Regions from separate parts of the Homo sapiens genome. Here all the other regions are linked to region 3. Evidence: promoter capture Hi-C in human tissues and cell types (Jung and others, 2019). All regions are on one chromosome and are shown on one strand. The core of a region is centred on a gene start or on the middle of the fragment in contact, and the rest is flanking DNA. Distances in the headings are between cores, read along the strand shown. Region 1 overlaps ANLN (anillin, actin binding protein). Region 2 overlaps ELMO1 (engulfment and cell motility 1). Region 3 holds the start of AOAH (acyloxyacyl hydrolase).

Region 1 (2,700 bases), core at 190-2,689, 290 kb after region 3:
ATAAAAATATTTCTGGACAAACAAAACCTAGAGATTTCATTTCCAGCAGAACTATATTACAAGAAATAATAAAGACAGTTCTTCTTGACAGGACAATGACTTCAGATGGAATTCTCAATCTACAAGAAGGAAGAACACCAGAAATGGTAAATATAAGGACCAGTTTATAAAAATATAAAAGTTTCTTTTAAAAATTGATTCAAGAGGCTGGGCACAGTAGTTCACAACTGTAACCCCAGCATTTTGGGAGGCAAGGCAGGTGGATGGCTTGAGCCCAGGAGTTCACGGCCAGCCTGGAAAACATAGCAAGACCCCATCTCTTAAAAAAGAAAAAAACTGATTAAAGAAAAAGTAACAACAGTGCATTGTGTGGTTTATAACAAAGAAGTAAAATATACTGGGATGGGAAAATGAACTATACTGTTGTGAGGTTCATATTGTAAGTTACATGAAGCAGTGTAACAGTATTTCAAAATAGACTTTAATAAGGTAAGGATGCATACATTATTTCCTACCAACGCCTTAAAAAACAAAAACAAAAACAGGTAAGTATAGCTAAAAAATCCAAAAGAGGAGATTAAAAAGGATTACCAAAATACTCAATTAATCCAGAAGAAGGCAGGAAAGGGAAAACAAAGCAGTAAAGAACAGACGAAACAAATAGAAAACAAATAACAAAATGGTAGACTACGAGTTGGCAAACGTTTTCTATAACTTACACAGACTGTACATGGCACCATTCAGTCAGGAGAAATGTAAACAAATATAAAGATGCATTTTTTGTGAAATACATTTTGATCTTATATTGAAAATACAGTTTTTATGTGAGTGCAGGATTGCTATAAGAAAGACACACCTATAGACTCTAATATAGGATTAAAGGAAGGTGAAGGATCTTCAACTTGAATATTTAATGCCAGCAAAGGATGGTTTGATAATTTTAGAAAGAGGCTTTAAAAATGTCAAGATACAACAGAAGAAGCAGCTTCTACCAAATGAGACAGGAGATGAGTTCCCAGACACCATTAAGAAAATCAGTGAAGAAAAAGGATATCTGCCTGAACAAGTTTGTTTTTTGTTATTGTTTTCCAAAACAAGGTCTCACTCTGTCACTCAGGCTGAAGTGCAGTGGCGTGATCATAGCTCACTGCAGCCTTGAACTTCTGAACTTCTGGGCTCAAGCAATTCCCCCATCTCAGCCTTCTGAATAGCTAGGGCTACAGGTGTGTACCACCACACCCAGCTAATATTTTTTTATTCTTTGATGAAAAAAAACTGTTTTCATCATCTATGTTGCTCAGGCTGGTATTGAACTTCTGGCTTTAAACGATCCTCCCACTTTGGCCTCCCAAAGTGTTGGGATTGTAGGTATGAGCTACAGTGCCCAACCTGAACAAATTTTTAATTCAGATAAAAGTGCCCTATTCTGGGGGGGAAAAAAGAAAGCCACAAGGGACATTTATTAGCAAGGAAGTGAGAACCAGAATTTAAGGCAGAAGGGATAGGCTAACTCCTGTTTTGTGTAAAGGTAAGTGGGTTTATGATCAGAACTGCCCTTATCTATAAAGCTGCTAACACCCAAGCCTTGAAGGGAAAAGATAAACGCCAACTGCTAGTCTTTTGGTTATACAAGGCCTGGATTGGTTCCATCAATGATTTGTCCCTGAAATCAAGAATAAAATGGTAATATATATATATATATTATATATATATATATATATACACACACACACACACACACACACACACACACACACAAACACACACATATATACACACATATATATATGATAGATAGATAGATAGACAGATATCTAAAGTAACATTGACTTCTGAGTCAAGATAGAAAGGAAGATGGAAGTGTCTGTCATTTCTATTGCCCAGGGAAAAAGAATGGCATCCCAACTGGATTAATCTTAGTTAAGTCTAAATTTGAGTTTTTAGTATAATTAGTTTCCAATGATTTGACCCTCTAACATAGCAAAGATAACTTAAAGGGGGAATTCTAAGACAAAAAGTATAAATTTCAGTAGACTAATTTCATGAGATGAACCTCCAACTGCCCAAATTTGAAACCGATCCACAATGCAGAACCAAAACATCATATGCCTCATCATCCTATTTTGTAAAAATTCCCTTTTTGCTTTTCCTTACAGTGAGTTTTAAGTTCCTTAGGCTCTTTCCTCTCAATGGTATTTAACAGAATTCCATTGTTTAGCACAGAGCATGCTACTGATAACAAAAATCAGAACAATGAGAAGAAAATGTGCCCTCTTACTCTGTAGCTGAGGAAAAGTAGACAATATTTTTGGTTAGAAGCTTGTCCTGATAAAGAAGTAAATTGAAAATATTCACAAAAACGTCAAGTTTACTACCCCTCCCCCTAGTTGAGTGTGGAGGGAGACTTGTGTGAAAATGTATGATCCTATTCTGTTTTGTGTTTAACAAAGGAGTCTTTTAAGACATCCACACTTCAAAGATTATGTTAAGAGCTGTAAAATATAACCTACAACCAGGGAGACTGTGTAATGTGTTATATGCTGGGATATTTTTGAGGGTGAAAGGGGCACCATTAATAATTACACAAGGCCAACAGGTATAAACTGGATAGTTCAGGGCATACCAGAATGCCTAACCATTTTCTTCAATCCCAAAACTGTATAATCCTAATTGGTTGTTTTACTTCAAAATTGTTTGCTC
Region 2 (2,700 bases), core at 8-2,507, 430 kb before region 3:
TGATACTGTCATTATGATGCTAGCTGGTTATTTCGCCCATTAATTGATGCAGTTTCTTCCTAGCATCAGTGGTCTTTACAATTTGGCATGTTTTAGCAGTGGCTCATATCAGTTGTTCCTATCCATGTTTAGTGCTTCCTTTAGGAGCTCTTGTAAGGCAGGCCTGGTGGTGACAAAATCTCTCAGCATTTGCTTGTCTGTAAAGGATTTTATTTCTCCTTCACTTATGAAGCTTAGTTTGTCTGGATATGAAATTCTGGGTTGAAAATTCTTTAAGAATGTTGAATATTGGCCCCTACTCTCTTCTGGCTTGTAGGGTTTCTGCAGAAAGATCCGCTGTTAGTCTGATGGGCTTCCCTTTGTGGGTAACTTGACCTTTCTCTCTGGCTGCCCTTAACATTTTTTCCTTCCTTTCAACCTTGGTAAATCTGACAATTATGTGTCTTGGGGTTGCTCTTCTCAAGGAGTATCTTTGTGGTATTCTGTGTATTTCCTGAATTTGAATGTTGGCCTGCCTTGCTAGATTGGGGAAGCCCTCCTGGGTAATATCCTGCAGAGTGTTTTCCAACTTGGTTCCATTCTCCCCGTCATTTGCAGGTGCACTAGTCAAATGTAGATTTGGTCTTTCACATAGTCCCGTATTTCTTAGAGGCTTTGTTAGTTTCTTTTCACTCTTTTCTCTGATCTTGTCTTCTCGCTCTTTTTCATTAATTTGATCTTCAATCACTGATATCCTTTCTTGCGCTTGATCAAATCGGCTATTGAAGCTTGTGTATGCTTCACGCAGTTCTCGTACTGTGGTTTTCAGCTCCATCAGGTCATTTAAGCTCTTCTCTACACTGGTTGTTCTAGTTAGCTATTCATCTAACCTTTTTTCAGGGTTTTTAGCTTCCTTGTGGTGGATTAGAACATGCTCCTTTAGCTCGGAGAAGTTTGTTATTACCGACCTTCTGAAGCCTACTTCTGTCAGCTCGTCAAGCTCATTCTCCATGCAGTTTTGTTCCCTTGCTGGAGAGGAGCTGCGATCCTTTGGAGGAGAAGAGGTGCTCTGGTTTTTGGAATTTTCAGCCTTTCTGTTCTGGTTTCTCCCCATCTTTGTGGTTTTATCTAACTTTGGTCTTTGACGTTGGTGACCTACAGATGAGGTTTTGGTGTGGATGTCCTTTTTTGTTGATGTTGATGCTATTCCTTTCTGTTTGTTAGTTTTCCTTCTAACAGACAGGCCCCTCAGCTTCAGGTCTGTTGCGGTTTGCTGGAGGTCCACTCCAGACCCTTTTTGCCTGGGTAACACCCCTGGAGGCTGTAGAACAGCAAATATTGCTGCCTGATCCTTCCTCTGGAAGCTTTGTCCCAGAGGGGCACCCACCTGTATGAGGTGTCTGTCTGCTCCTACTGGGAGGTGTCTTCTAGTCAGGCTACTCGGGGGTCAGGGACCTGCTTGAGGAGGCAGTCTGTTCATTATCGGATCTTGAACCCTGTGCTGGGAGAACCACTGCTCTCTTCAGAGCTGTCTGGTAGAGATGTTTAAGTCTGCAGAAGATGTCTGCTGCCTTTTGTTCAGATACGCCCTGCCTCCAGAGGTGGAATCTAGAGAGGCAGTAGGCCTTGCTGAGCTGTGGTGGGCTCTGCCCAGTTTGAGCTTCCCTGCTGCTTTGTTTACACTGTGAACATAGAACCGCCTACTCAAGCCTCAGCAGTGGCAGACACCCCTCCCCCTGCCAGGCTCCAGCATCCCAGGTTGATCTTAGATTGCTGTGCTAGCATCCCAAGGATCTGTGGGCGTGGGACCAGCCAAGCCAGGCACAGGAGGGAATCTCCTGGTCTGCCGATTGTGAAGACTGTGGGAAAAGCACGGTATTTTGGCAGGAGTGTACCGTTCCTCCAGGTAGAGTCACTCATAGCTTCCCTTGGCTAGGAAAGGGAAATCCCTGGACCCCTTGTGCTTCCCGGGTGAGGTGATGCCCCACCCTGCTTTGGCTCGCCCTCCATAGGCTGCATCCACTATTCAACCAGTCCCAGTGAGATGAACCAGGTACCTCAGTTGGAAATGTAGAAATCACCCGTCTGCTGCGTCAATATCACTGGGAGCTGTAGACCGGAGCTGTTTCTATTTGGCCATCTTGGAAGTGACCCGTAAGTCTATTCTTAAAGTCATTTTTCTGTGAGATATAATTCCCGAAGTGCCTACTTGTTGGAGGAGGTTGAGGTTAGTATAATTACTATCAAAAAATACACTTTCAGAAATTGGTTCCAGCTTTTCCTGCCCCTCACTCCTTCTCTGAGCAGCTTGATGGATCCTTCCCCACGTGTGTCCCTTATAGGTGTCCGCTCCGGCAGATACCCCTTGGAGACATATGCAGAGATAACTACCATTTGTTTGGATTTTGCTCCAACACAACCAGCTTATACACATTATACAAAAACTTGCTTTTTTCATTTCTCAGTTCATCATGAACATGCTCACATCTAAGTAGATTGATAATCTGGTGCTTTCTAATATATTTACATAGAAGTTTATATCGCAAATTCTGTTCCTTTCATTTTCTTCTTTTTTAAACCAGAGCCTTTTCTCCTTAACTTCACTAAATGAAGCTACCCCTCTCTTTTTCAGCCTCCCTTCTTTCCGGTGCTGAGTGTTAGCCATCTGAGTGTATGCTTCCCACCATTTCTAAATGCTTTTACGATCGTGTGTATACATGT
Region 3 (2,700 bases), core at 201-2,700:
GAAGATCACTTGAACCCAGGAGGTCAACACTGCAGTGAGCTGTGATCACACCACTGCACTCCAGCCTGGATGAAAAAGCAAGGCCCTGTCTCAAAAAACAAACAAACAACAACAACAACAACAAAAACAAGACACTGAAGGGGGGAAAGTTACATCACTGGTCTAATATATTACTCAGAATAAACAGTAGACATGAGACGTAAGCATGAGCCTTTCTGTCTTCACAATCTGAGTTCCTAATCAATCAGTCCTTTATTTAGCCTCCCTTGGAAGTCTCTGGAACTTCTCTAGGCCTCACCCCTGTGGTGGTCCTAGTGACCCCAGAGCTCCCCTTAGTCACAGAGTGAAGAACTGAAGCAGCAGCACCTTAGAGTCAGAGGAAGTCACAGGCCCATGGACGCCTAACGATATCCTCAGTATTGGGCTGGAAGTGTAATTAGGGAAACACTCTGACTTGTGCTATCTCTGCAGCAGGTTTGGGAATTGTAGCCCCATCGGTGCTTGTAAGACTAATGACTGCACAAGAAATCTTCCAACCATAAAAACTGGTATTTCCTACATCCTGGAAAGGATGCTACTCTAAAACTTTGCCTGCTACTCCAAATGCTATTTTTTTTAATTGCTAACAATTTAGATAGCTTCTATAATATTTCAAAATTTGTAATAAGCTCCCTCAGAGCCTAAGCAGAGAGAAACAGAATCTCATGACCTCCTACACTTACCTAGACTGTGGTACTTTGGCCCTGTCCTCTTATCTTGACTGAGAATGGCATATGATTTTGTTTTATCTTATTTTAGAGAGAAACATTTAGATTATATGTCTTTTATCTATGATCTGGTTCCGATTTTTTTTTTCCCTCAGAAAGACAGTGTTCAGTTCTATTCTTCAGAGCAGAAAATCAGTCTCTTAACAAATCATCCACAAAATGCACTTCGAAATTCTGGAGAAAAAAAAGATGCATTGTGCACAGCCTAGCAACTGTGAATTGATTAATTCTAACCCATGTTTTTTCTCATTAGGTCTAAAATCCCACCATGCTAACTGCCCATTATTTTCTGTACTGTTTATTTTCTGCACACCAAATAAAAGGCCTTGACCCTTCAAGGAATAACCCAATTTCTCCAGAGGAAAGATATTATTTGACCAGAATATCCTTTTACAACAAAATAAGGATCACAACCTTACCATATAAAGCTGTTGAAAACAAGACTAAGTAAGTTCTGAATGTAACCAATTAGAATTTCTACAATATGTGGGTGCTGCTGATCAAATTGTTAAAGGGTTGTGTGCTTGTGGATTAGTTTTTTTTTTCTTTTTTCTTCTCAGTTTTGGCTTTAGTATCGTTTTGTTTTGTTTTGCAAGAATGAAAGGGGAAGGGCCTCCTAACCAACCCAACAGATCAGTTCCGGCAAGCCTCGAGGCTCACGGGGTTTATGCACACTAACTTCACTGAGCCAGGGAGCACGGAAGTTGTGCCACTGTGCAACTTGGGTTTTCTTTATCCTGCAGTCTTTACCTCAGCAGAACCGCACACCACAGACTCCCTCCAGCTCTTTGTGTGTGGCTCTCTCAGGGTCCAACAAGAGCAAGCTGTGGGTCTGTGAGTGTTTATGTGTGCTTTTATTCACTTCACACTTATTGAAAAGTGTGTATGTGAGAGGGTGGGGTGTGTGTGTCAAAGAGAGTGAGGAAGAGAAGGAGAGAGAGATCAATTGATTCTGCAGCCTCAGCTCCAGCATCCCTCAGTTGGGAGCTTCCAAAGCCGGGTGATCACTTGGGGTGCATAGCTCGGAGATGCAGTCCCCCTGGAAAATCCTTACGGTGGCGCCTCTATTCTTGCTCCTGTCTCTTCAGTCCTCGGCCTCTCCAGCCAACGATGACCAGTCCAGGCCCAGCCTCTCGAATGGGCACACCTGTGTAGGTATGCAAATAAATATTTTTGTATTTTCTATGTAGACATAACAATGGGATCCAGTACTTTGCTTGCGTAATAAATCACATATTTTATTAAATCAAGAATTGTAAGATTCCAGGTAAGGCACCAGTAACCTCACTGACACAGAGAAATGTGGAGTCTAAGAGTAGACATTGACACTACATACATCTATGTGAATAAAAAGCATACTAGTTTAAATTGGGCATAAAACTCTTCCACCTCATTGGCGATTGGAATTTTTTCTTCTTGTATAGGTAACTATTATTTCAGGCTATTTTAGTCTGAAATTTTTACTGCTTTTCATGGGCTTTGACCTCATATAAACACATCTGAGTTTGAATCACTGCCCTCCTCCTACCCTTCTCTCCCATTTCCTACTGGCTGTGGAAACCTGGAGCAATGTACTTAACCCTCTCCATGCTTCTGTGTCCTTATTGGTGAACTGAAGTGAGTGAGACCCATCTCATAGGGATACCATGGAAATTGTGACCATGCATGTAAATCTGTGGCATGTGCACACAGTAAGGACTCAACCATCTTAGCTTCCTTCCGTCTCTCAGAGAATCCAGATTTGGCGATCACCTGGAGACGCTGAGCGTTGATATGGCTTCTTGGCTCATCTGTTAATGAAGTGTTTTATTTCCAAGAGGTTTTTTTTGTTTGTTTTTTTTGGATGAGAGCAGGAAGTAAGGTAAGATCTTTGATATTCACATTGTAGCTCTCATAACATGGGAATTCTCATAATAGTGGTGGCATTTAGATG

The links. Contacts are between HindIII fragments. The study calls those that stand out against the background at their distance.
Region 1: a fragment that was not itself captured here is called in contact with the fragment with the promoter of AOAH in region 3 in 2 of the 25 tissues and cell types used here (H1 embryonic stem cells and small bowel).
Region 2: a contact is called between a fragment that was not itself captured here and the fragment with the promoter of AOAH in region 3, in 2 of the 25 tissues and cell types used here (H1 embryonic stem cells and bladder).

The regions. Positions count from the first base shown.
Region 1 is chr7:36,430,620-36,433,319 of GRCh38, reverse strand. The region is part of intron 20 of ANLN (anillin, actin binding protein); the gene reads right to left. Among named protein-coding and RNA genes, the nearest start is that of ANLN, 42 kb to the right of the region's middle. The HindIII fragment of the contact is 4,965 bases long and covers 1-2,700 here.
Region 2 is chr7:37,152,593-37,155,292 of GRCh38, reverse strand. All of the region lies in intron 13 of ELMO1 (engulfment and cell motility 1), which reads left to right. Among named protein-coding and RNA genes, the nearest start is that of ELMO1-AS1, 160 kb to the right of the region's middle. RefSeq lists an enhancer at 996-1,615. The HindIII fragment of the contact is 3,947 bases long and covers 1-2,700 here.
Region 3 is chr7:36,723,244-36,725,943 of GRCh38, reverse strand. AOAH (acyloxyacyl hydrolase) reads left to right here and starts at 1,450. Exons shown (of 21, transcript NM_001637.4): 1 at 1,450-1,922. The coding sequence starts at 1,796. The HindIII fragment of the contact is 16,117 bases long and covers 1-2,700 here.